Regions from separate parts of the Homo sapiens genome. Here region 2 is linked to region 1. Evidence: promoter capture Hi-C in 16 types of primary human blood cells and fetal thymus (Javierre and others, 2016). All regions are on one chromosome and are shown on one strand. Each heading gives the region's core, a stretch centred on a gene start or on the middle of the fragment in contact. The rest is flanking DNA. Distances are from core to core; before and after follow the strand shown.

Region 1 (5,949 bases), core at 1,197-3,696:
TTTAGTGTATTTATAGGGTTGTGCAACCATCACAATTTAACTTTAGAAAATGTTTGTCCATTCTAAAACCTCACATGCCTTAGCAGTAACTCCCTAGCCCAGTCCCAAGCAACTACAAATGTACATTCTGTCACTCTCTATTTGCCTATTCTAGACATTTGACATAAATGGAATAATACAATTTGTAGTCTTGTGACTGGCTTCTTTTACTTAGCATACTGTCATCAAGGTTCATCTGTGTTGTAGCATGCATTGGTCCTTCATTCCTTTTTCTTGCCCAACAGTAGTCCATTGTATGGATATACCACATTATATTTATTCATTCATAACCTGATGGACATTGGCTTGTGTCCTCTTTGGCATATATATATACACACACACATTATATATATATGTATATATATATGAATGCTGCTAATGAACATTCATGTTCAAGATTTTATGTGAACATGTTTTCATTTCTGTAGGGTGTATACACCTAAGAGTGGAATTGCGGGTCATGTGGTAATTCCACGTTTTACTTTGAGAAACTGCCAAACTTTTCCAAAGGACTGTCACTAGTTTCCATTCCCACTAGCAGTGTATAGGGGTTCTGATTTCTCCACATCCTCCCCAATACTTGTCTCATTTTAATTACAGCCACCCTGTGGATATGAAATGGTGTCTCACTGTAGTTTCGATTTGTATTTCCATGTGCTTACTGTTCATTTGTATATCTTTAGAGAAATATCCAAATTCTTTGCCCATTTTAGAATTGGATTGTCTTTTAATTGTTGAGTTGTGAAAGTTGATTCCAATACAAATCCCTTTTCTCCCATTCTGTGGGTTGTCTTTATACCCACTTGTTGGAATCGTTTACAGCACAAAGGTTTTCATTTTGAAAACTTTTGTAGTTCATCCAGCTTGTGCTTTTGGCGTCCTAAGAAACAATTGCCTGGCCCAATATGATGAAGAGTTGCTTCTGGGTTTTTTGTGTTTGGTTGGTTTTGTTTTTGTTTTTGTTTTTGAGACAGAGTCTCCCTCTGTCACCCAGGCTGGAATGCAGTGGCACGATCTTGGCTCACTGCAATCTCCGCCTCCCGGGTTCAAGCGATTCTCCTGCCTCAGCCTGCCGAGTAGCTGGGATTACAGGCATGAGCCACCGTGCCTGTCCCTTGCTCCTGTTTTTTCATAAGTTTTACATTCTAGGTCTATGATGCATTTTTAGTTAATGTGTACCCCTGTTACTGGTGGAAGGTATCTGAGTCACGTGGCACCAAAATATGTCAGCAGGAGTGAATCTATATGGGTCTGCAGCAACCTCAGTTCCTGCCTCCTCAGAAGAAAGAATTCCACTGAGGGGCATAAGGCAGAAGGAGAGACTGAGGCAAGTTTTAGAGCAGGAATAAAAGTTTATTAAAAAGCTCTACAGCAGAAATGGAAGGAAGGAAAGTACACTTGGAAGAGGGCCAAGCGGGTGACCTGAAAAAGAAGCGCACAGTTTGACCTTTTGACCTGGGGTCTTATGCATTGGCATACTTCTGGGGTCTTGCATCCCTTCTCCCCTGATTCTTCCCTTGGGAGGCCTGCCTGCATGGGCAGTGGTCTGCCAGCACTTGGGAGGGGAGTGTGCACACTGTGTATACTGGAGTTGTACCCATGCTCACTGGAGGCGTTCTTCCCTTACCAGTCCGGTGTCCTTCGAGGGTCACATGTCAGTTAAACTCCGCAATTTGTGTAAGCCCACTTGCCCAGCTCCTGAGATCTTACCGAGAAGCTGATCACCAGTTTCAGGTTTTCTCTATCTATTGGGAGACTGCCTTTCCCTGGCCCCGCTGGATCAATGATCATTTTAGAGGGAGCATAACAACCGCCTGACTGTCGCCTGATGGTTGCCTGACGTACCTGGTTGGAAGCGTGGCCCTCTCCTGCCCTTTTCGAGGCTGACTAGCTACCTGCTGTCACCCCCCTTCCCTTTTAAGGACTTTTCTGGAATGTTGGCCTGTGCCACCTGCTTTTATTCGCTGGCCAGAACTTAGTTACTGGCCATCCCCGTGGTCTGTATAGGAGACTCGACAATGTATATTTCAGGCGTTGGGCATCATGTGTAGCCGGCGGAATGCCTGTTCAGCCATGGTCCAGCCTGAACGAGCGGGCCTCTTGCTTCATTTTGCAGGGGAGCTGCTGCTTGCCCGCGGTCACCCCAGCGGTCTGGCGGAGCCCTTAGCGCGCAGGGCCGCCGTCTGCGGGCGCTCACGCCCCCGGGGATCCACCCCAAGGAGAACGGTCCTGAGGGCCTGCCGGGCCTTTCCCCCCGCGGATTTTGGTTCTTCGCTGTTTCCCTTTGGGGTGCCCTTCGCGGTTTCTGCGTTTCCCCCGCGTTGCCAGCAGCCACTCGCGCCGCGCCCCTAGCCCAGAACCGCCCCTCCCAAGGGCGATAACCCCGAGGGCAACGGCCGCGGGCGGCGCTGCGGTGGCAATGGCGGCGCCCCCTGCACCAGCCGCCAAGGGGTCCCCGCAGCCGGAGCCGCACGCCCCAGAGCCCGGCCCGGGGAGCGCCAAGCGAGGGCGAGAGGTGAGCGGGGCGGCGGGGACCGGGAAGGGGCTGCGTCCTCGGGGAGCTCCAGGGCGTCGCCTCGCAGCCCCTTTTCCAGCTGGGGGCAGCCCGGAGGGGCTCGGCCCAAACCTGCCAGCTCAGGGGCTGCCCTCGCGGGGTTACACGGCTGGGAGCGGGGAGGCTGGTAGGTGCCGGCGCCGGAAAGAGACTAGGACGGGAAGCCTAGCCCTAGCCAAGGAAGTAACTTGGGGATGCGTGGTCATTGCTGTCCTGATTCCCGGCTTAGGGGTCTTGTCCGTGCCACCGCAGGTCCTCCCGGGGTCCCCGAGCTCTGGGCAGGCAGGGCTTTCTGAAGCGCCTGGGGAGGCTGCGTCCTTCCCGACCTCAGGCAGCTGCTGTGGCCTCGGCCTCCCTCCCAGACCCTGGCCTCGCCCAGGCACCAGGCTCCCCTTGGAGGCAGCCTCAGGGAAGGTCCTGGCCATGGGCTCCGACAAGAAGGGAGGAGGGCAGGTGGGAGCGGCGGGGTCTTCGGGGCCCCTTGTCCCTTGCCCGATGCCGCCGGGCCGTGCTGGCCAGTGGGGCTGTGCTGGACGGAGCAAGGGGCCTGGGGCTTCCTGGGCCTCACTGAACGCGCCTGCTCCCTGCTCGTGCCCAGGGCATTCTGTGGCCTCCCCTGACCACCTCAGCCCCCAGCCTGTTCAGGGCTTCCTACGAGGCACCTGGGAGCACAGGATTGCATCCCACAAGAAAGTGAGGTGAGATGAAGGGGCTCTCCGGGGACTCTCACTTCCCAGGGAAACTTAGAAATTCAGGGTGAGATTAACAGCAAGAGGGAAACACTCGCATTGCTGATGAAGTTCCGGCGTGGAATCCTCTTACGACTCTCCGAGGGGTGGCAGCCCCGGTCACTCCAAGGAGACCGAGGTGCCCTGCCCTGGGTCACGCAGCTAGAGATAGCAGGGCTGCGCCCCTCGCCCGGAGCCGCCCCTCCCAAGGGGCTTCTCCTTGTACAGCTCACTGTACAGCTGTACCGGGCTTTTATGACTTTCGGTAAAACTGTCATCCTCAAGACGGCAAGATGGGATCATATCCCTGGCTTCACTTGGAAGTTCTTTCTAAAGTTCTAAAAACTTGCTAGGCCTGTTTTGGGGGATACAAGAGTCCCCATTAGGGGGAGAGGGGGACTGTCACGTTGAATTCTGCCTGTTCTTAAAGTTTTCTGGAAGCTGAAATGATGTTCACACAAATGTCAGAAAAGAATCATCCTGCCCCCAGTGTGGTTTTCCCCTGTGGGTAGGAAGAGTGTGCAAAGTGTGATAAACCCTTATCTGGGGAGACCTTCCCTTCACAAGAGCCTGCTGGGGTGTCCTGCAAGATGTGGAAATGGGTGAAGCCATGTCATCTCCACTCCCTCCAGCCCCCAGCAAACGATGAGAAAAGAGCCCAGCTTCTTCCAAAGAAACAGCACTTTACACAGGGTCTTCATGGCCATTTATTGCTTCAACGGATATATACTAAGCACCTACTGTATACCAAGCTTTGTTCTAGGTACTGGAAACACCATGATAAATAAAAGGTGGAGTTCATGCTCTCAGAGAGCTTACATTCCTGTAGGGAGAGGCAGGAACTAAATGAAAATATAGCAGGCGGTAAGTACAACTGAGAGAGGTGAGAGGTTAGGGAATGCCTCTTGGAGGAGGTGACATTTAAGCTGGTGACATCAAACCAGAATGACAAGGAGTCACCTTCCAGGCAGAGGAATGGGAAGGGCAAAGGCCCTGAGGCAGCAACAGACTTGATGATTTTGAGGAATAGGAAGGAGCCCGGCGTGGCTGAAGGAGAGCTATTTGAGGTGAGGTGGGTAGGGGGCCGACTGGGTGGACTCCTTAGCCATGATCAGGACTTGGAGTTTTATTCAAACTGCAATGGTATTGACTGAATACCATGGATCTGGAAACAAACAAACAAACAAACAAAACACACACACACACACACACACACACACAAAAACAGACAAAAAAACCCTGCAATAGCAAGCCATTGGAGAGTTTTAATCAGAGAGGAGATGGGATCTGATTATTTATTTATTTATTTATGACTGAGTCTCTGTCACCCAGGCTGGAGTGCAGTGGTGTGATATTTGCTCACTGCAACCTCTGCCTCCCTGGTTCAAGCAATTCTCTTGCCTCAGCCTCCTGAGTAGCTGGGATTACAGGCGGCCACTATGCCTGGCTAATTTTTGTGTTTCTAGTAGAGATGGGGTTTTGCCATGTTGGGCAGGCTGGTCTTCAACTCCTGGGCTCAAGCAATCCACCTACCTCGGCCTCCCAAAGTGCTGGGTTTATAGGGATGAGCCACTGTGCGATTTATGTTATTACAAGAGCACTGGCTGCTGGGTGGAGTGGATTGTAGGGAGCAAGGGCAGACACAGAAGCCACTTAGGAGGCATTCACTGATAGACAAGAACTGGAAAGAAGAATAGATGACTCCTAAGTTTGTGGCCTGAGCCACTGAGGGGACCAGCGGTGCCATTTGCTAGGAGCTGGATTAGACAATGGAATGGCCATCAGGAGCTGTATGTAGACCATGCTAAGCTGAGACGCCTGCCAGGCATCCCTGGAGGGCTGTGGGTAGGCAGGCTATGGGTAAATGAGCTATCGCCTCATTTACTCATCGAAGAAACAACTTTGTGAAGTTGGCAGGGATGTTGCATTTGACAGATGAGGAAAACAGGCTTAGAGAGATGATGTGATTTATTCAAGGTCACATAGAGGGGTAGGTGACAAAGGCAGGCTCAAGCCCAGGTCTCCTGACCTGCAGCTTACACGGCCGTGCTGACTCAGTAAATGATGGCGGCTTCAGCAGGAAGCCCAGGGTAAGATGTCCAGAAGAACTTCCCCCCTGGAAATGTTTAGAGGTCAGGGTTTAGGATCTTTTTTCTCTTCGTCTCACTTCCTCTTAGGATGACATGGGGGCAAAATGGGGCTGAGAGGTTGCTGGAAAAGCCCTGAAGACATCACAGAGACTCAGGATGTTTACTGAAGTCATGGGGTGTGGGGACCTGTTTTGTGTCTGTTGGGAGAAGGGCTTAGTTCCTGTGTCTCCTCCAGGACAGCAGAGCCGGTCGCCTCTCATTCTGTACAAAGGTGTGCTATGGCATTGGTGGGGTCCCCAACCAGATAGCCTCCAGCGCCACAGCCTTTTACCTGCAGCTTTTCCTGCTTGATATAGCACAGGTAAGTGTGGGCAGTAGCCCAGTCTCTGCTGGCATCTTCCTTGGGGTCTGGTCCTTCCACCCCCACCTCTGCTTCTGCTCCCACTATCCTTGTAGACAGCACTTCTGACACGAGCTCAACAAAAAGCCAGAAGCCAATGAGGGCAAGGTACTCAAGAATGTTTACTGCAGCCTGTTT
Region 2 (5,388 bases), core at 1,760-4,259, 330 kb after region 1:
GAGGTTGCAGGGAGCCAAGATCGCACCACTGCCCTCCAGCCTGGGCGACAGAGCAAGATTTCCTCTCAAAAAATACATAGGAAAAAAGGTAAGATTTAAGAAAGGGAGGCAGAGTTATTATAAGGCTTTAGTTTTTAGGTGACAGAACAAAACTATTTTTAGACAAAAAAAAGAAATAAAGATTTAATTTACAAAAAGGAGATGGGAGAGAAGTTACCTAATGGAAGTTAGGGCCAGAAAAAGAAGTAGTAGACAGCTCTAGAACACGAAGTTAGAACCTGGGACAGATATTTCTGTCTCTAAGAATGAAGTTCAGGAAGGGGAGTAAGAATGAACAAAGGCATACATAAGTTTAGAAGCAGAAGAAAGAGCGATTGAGAAGGTACAGATTTTCTTCTACCATTTTTTTTTCTTTTAGAGATATATAATCTTTTTGAGACAGTCAATGTTGCCAAGGCTGGAGTGCAGTGGCATAATCACGGTGCACTGCAGCCTCGACCTCCCAGGCTCACGTGATTCTCCCACCTCAGCTTTTCAAGCGGCTGGGACCACAAGAGCACGCTGCCAAGCCCGGCTAATTTTTAAAATTTCTTATAGAGGTGCAGTCTCCCTATGTTGCCCAGGCTGGTCTCAAACTCCTAAGCTCAAGTGATCCTCCCACCTCAGCCTCCCAATGCAAGCTTTCTTTGTCTCTCTTCTTTAGGCTCAGACAACAGTCCAAAGGGCAGAGCTAAGGACAGACTCCTTGATCTCGTAGGCCCTCAAGTGTCTAAGCACAAATTTCTCTCCTCTTCAAGCCATAAAAGAGAAAGACACATGCAAATCAGTTCCCATGACTCAACCAGATATGTGCATTTCAGCTTGCATTCAAATCAGCTTAGGCCCTACACATCAAAACATTTGTTAAAATGAATGAATGTGAAGGAAAACATTCTAGGCAGAGGTTACTCTGCAAAAGCAGAGTAACTAGTGTGGTCTGGAAAAATAGAAGATTACTTACTCACATGAAATAGTGAAGGGCTGGCCTGGCACAGTGGCTCATGCCTGTAATCCTAGCACTTGGGAGGCCGAGGCAAGTGGATCACCTTGAGCTCAGGAGTTCAAGACCAGCCTGGGCAACACAGTGAAACCCCTCTCTACCAAAAATAAAAAAAATCAGCCAGGCGAGGTGGCATGTGCCTGTGGTCCCAAGTACTCAGGAGGCTGAGGAGGGAGGACTGCTTGAGTCTGTAAGATGGGGGTTGCAGTGAGTCAAGATCGTGCCACTGTACTCCAGCCTGAGTAACAGAGTGAGACCCCATCTCAAAAAAAAAAAAAAAAGTGAAAGGCTAACAACAATGCAAGGAACCATAACAATAGATACAAAAATAAGTACAATGTTAATGCCTAGCTGATACAAATGTCAATTAGCATAAGATCCTTAAAACAACCTGAAAAATTAAACATTAAAAAATATATATATAATAGAAAGTGAAAGTCCATTACCAAGAAAACAATCATTAGCAGTTTTGAATAGATTGTTCCAGATATTTCCTATTTATACACTAGCAAATACCACTTTTACACAAATGAAGTCATACTTCATTGTTCTGCTTTTTTCATGTTACCAATTTTTCACAGTGAATAAGTAATCTTCTATTTTTCCAGACCACACTAGTTACTCTGCTTTTGCTTGTACTGTAACCACTGCCTAGAATGTTTCCCTTCATGTTCATTTTAACAAATGTTACAATTAATGCTACAATAAACATTCTTCATACATGTGTGTAAATATAGGTCTGTGGACAGATATGTGCTTCCAAAGATAAATTCTAGAAGTGGAAGTAGCAGGTTAGAGAGCATGAACATTCTAATTTTAATAGATAATACCAAACAGCCTAAATTGGACTTTACCTATAAAGTCTCTCAATACAGGCTGATAGCATAATACCAATAAGATGCGGTTTAGAGACACAACCCTCTAACTCTGACTTAATTCAAAAGACATTTTAGAGTACCTATACCAGTAATATACTCCATTTCCTCTAAGCAATTTTCCACAAACATTATTTCCCTTAACTAAGCTTTCCTCTCCAAATAAATGTAATTTATAAGCACATGCTCCACAAAAATCTCAAACATGAAAAACTTACTAAGCGGACTCCACAGACAGGGGAGGAGGGGTGAACCTGAAGACCCAGTCCTGATTACCACAGTTAACAGTTTGGTATTTGTTTTTCCAGATTTATTTTATGCATATATAAACAAACATGTTATTTTTCAAACCCAAATAAAATTATGCTAGCCAATTAATATTCTATTATTTTCATTACACATATTACAGATATCCTTCCATAGCAATATATAATACATCAATCATATCCTTTTAAATAGGTGTACAGCATTTTATTATATGGATATACCAGAAATTAAGCTATCTTCCACTGGTGGACATTAAGACGGTTTCCAGTTTTTTGCCTAACAAACCATACTACTTTGAACATCCTCATCCTCATATATATACTGAGTATTTAGGTAGGACAATACTTCTAGAAGTAGAATTAATGGGTATCAAGTTGCTTTCCAAAATTTATTAATAGTACCATTTTATATTCCCATTGGTGTGTAAACATACTTGTTTCTGTATAATCTTGCCAATATTTGGTATGAACAATTATTTTATGTATTGCCAACCTGAGAGGCAAATTTTTTCTAAATTTTCATTTCTCTGATCATTAGGGAACTCAGCATTTTTCATATATCTATCATGTATATTTCTCCTATGAATTGCCTATTCATTTATTTTGCCCATTTTCTATAGCATGCTGTTCAATGGAAATGCAACACAAACTACATAATGTAATTTTAAATGTTCTAGTAGCCACATTTTAAAAAGTAAAATTAGGCCAGGTGCAGTGGCTCACGCCTGTAATCCCAGCACTTTGGGAAGCTGAGGCAGGTGGATCACCTGAGGTCAGGAGTTCAAGACCAGCCTGTCCAACATGGTAAAACTCCATCTCTACTAAAAATATAAAAATTAGCTGGGCGTGGTGGCGGGCACCTGTAATCTCAGCTACGCAGGAAGCTAAGGCAGGACAATCGCTTGAATCTGAGAGGCAGAGGTTGCAGTGAGCCCAGATTGCGCCAGTGCATTCCAGCCTGGATAATAGAGTGAGACTACATTTCAAAAAAATAAATAAAAAGTAAAAATAAACGGGTAAAATCTGTATTAATATATTTTAATTAGTTCATATCTAAATATTATCACCTCAACATATGATCAGTATAAAAATTCTTATGACATTTTACATTTTTGTACTGTCTTCAAACTCCAGCTTTTACACTTATTATACACTTAGAGTACTTCTCAATATAGAACTAGCCACATTTCAAGTGCTGATTAACCACATATTAAAGGCTACTGTATGGGATAGTGTGGTTCTATAGGATCTTTATATGTGAGAGCTCAGATTTCCCCCATTTCAGCCTTTTTTCCCCTATGTTTTTATTTTTACTGTACAAATAATTTAAAAGCAAAGGCTTCAAATAATGTACAATTATGAAGAGCAAAACATGACAGTCATTCTTTATTACCTCACTCACAGTACCATCTCCAAGATAACCATATCAGCCACTGAAGTACATTCTCACAGCCTATTTTTACATATTATATAAACGTATATATACCCATATGTATTTTACATTGTCTAAACCTTCTTCTAAGATAATACCCATCAGAAATACCACATTCGATTCTACATAATATTCAACAGGATGGGTAGATCAAAATTTATTTTTTAATAGACACATAATACATTAATACTCTCATTGTAAAAACTTAAAACATACAAATAAAGCCAATTCTTTTGACCATCCTTCCCCATCAGTCTCTGAAAATACCCAGTGCTGTTAACAACATGACCTGTATCCACGGATCTTTTTCTATGCATTACAATAATAGATATTATATTAATAGTAAGCTTTTACCTGTAACATATGCTATAAATGCTTTTAATCTAGCTTGTTTGTCTTTTAATTTTAGGGCATCTTTCATTATACCAATTTAAATTTGTTGGTCTTTCTTTTATGACTAGTGAGTGTCTTGTCATACAAAGAAAGGCCTGTCTCATACCAGGTCTTATACCAGAAAATTGTCCTATATTTTATTCTAGTACCTCTATGATTTAAGGGTTTTATGTATATATTTGATCTACGTGGATTTTATTTTGGAGTGAAGAAATGGATATGAGTCCAAATTGTTTGCGCTACCCTTCTACCACCACCACTTGCGATGTCTAGCAGTGTCTACCCTTCTTATCTCTATGACCTCTAAGACTGTATCCCAGCCCACAAAGATGGAAAGGCAGAAGGCTACGTAGAGTATAGCACAGAAAGGAGGGTGGGGGATTAACTGTAGAGAGGAAAAACTTGACAAACACTACTTTAGCCAGCTGGTCAAGGTCAACATCAACAGTCATAAAGCATGCAGACAGTATGTGCTCTTGATAAGATGAAAGTATCATTTTGCCTTTGTCATCTTCCTCCTAAAAATTCACTAACTTAGTCCAAGCATGACAAATCATCAAATTCCAATATACTTACAATATATTTATATATCTCCTACAATATCTGTCCAGTAACCTCTCAAAACTGTCAAAGTCATCAAAAACAAGGAAAGTCTAAGGAACTGTCACAACTAAGAGGAGCCTAAGGAGACATGACAGCTAAATGTAATGTGGTGACCTGGAACAGAACAAGGATATTAAATAAAAACTAAGGAAACTGAAATAATGCATAGACTTCAGTTAATCATAATACAATCAGTATTGTTCATTATTCCTAACATATGTACCATACTGATATAAGATATTAATAATAGTGGAAACTATGTGTGGGGTACATGAAGGGATATATGGGAACTCTGTTCTACTCGCTCCATTTTTCTGTAAATTTAAAACTGTTTAAAAAATAAGCCTATCAATTTTATAAAAAGCAAATACCTCAGAAGTAGAAGAGTATAGGTAAATATGTGCCTCTAATTTTGACCACATTCATTAAAAACAAAATACCCACTTGATCCACATGGAAATTTATCTTTTTTTTTTTTTTTTTTTTTTGAGATGGAGTCTCGCTCTGTCACCTAGGCTGGAGTGCAGTGGCATGATCTCGGCTCACTGCGACCTCCACCTCCCGGTTTCAAGTGATTCTCCTACCTCAGCCTCCCGAGTAGCTGCTACTACAGGCACCCGCCACCACGCCCAGCTAATTTTTTTTGTACTAGTAGAGACAGGGTTTCACCATATTGGCCAGGCTGGTCTTGAACTCCTGACCTTGTGATCTGCCGACCTCAGCCTCCCAAAGTGCTAGGATTACAGGCGTGAGCCACCGCAACCAGCAGAAATTTATCTT

The links. Contacts are between HindIII fragments. The CHiCAGO score rates a contact against its expected background, and 5 or more counts as called.
Region 2: a fragment that was not itself captured here is called in contact with the fragment with the promoter of MFSD2B in region 1 in 1 of 17 cell types (erythroblasts); the score reaches 6.1 in erythroblasts.

The regions. Positions count from the first base shown.
Region 1 is chr2:24,007,639-24,013,587 of GRCh38, forward strand. It overlaps MFSD2B (MFSD2 lysolipid transporter B, sphingolipid), which reads left to right and starts at 2,447. Exons shown (of 14, transcript NM_001346880.2): 1 at 2,447-2,554; 2 at 5,647-5,772. The coding sequence starts at 2,459. The HindIII fragment of the contact is 4,987 bases long and covers 1-4,071 here.
Region 2 is chr2:24,341,787-24,347,174 of GRCh38, forward strand. The region is part of intron 1 of ITSN2 (intersectin 2); the gene reads right to left. Among named protein-coding and RNA genes, the nearest start is that of ITSN2, 16 kb to the right of the region's middle. The HindIII fragment of the contact is 1,896 bases long and covers 2,062-3,957 here.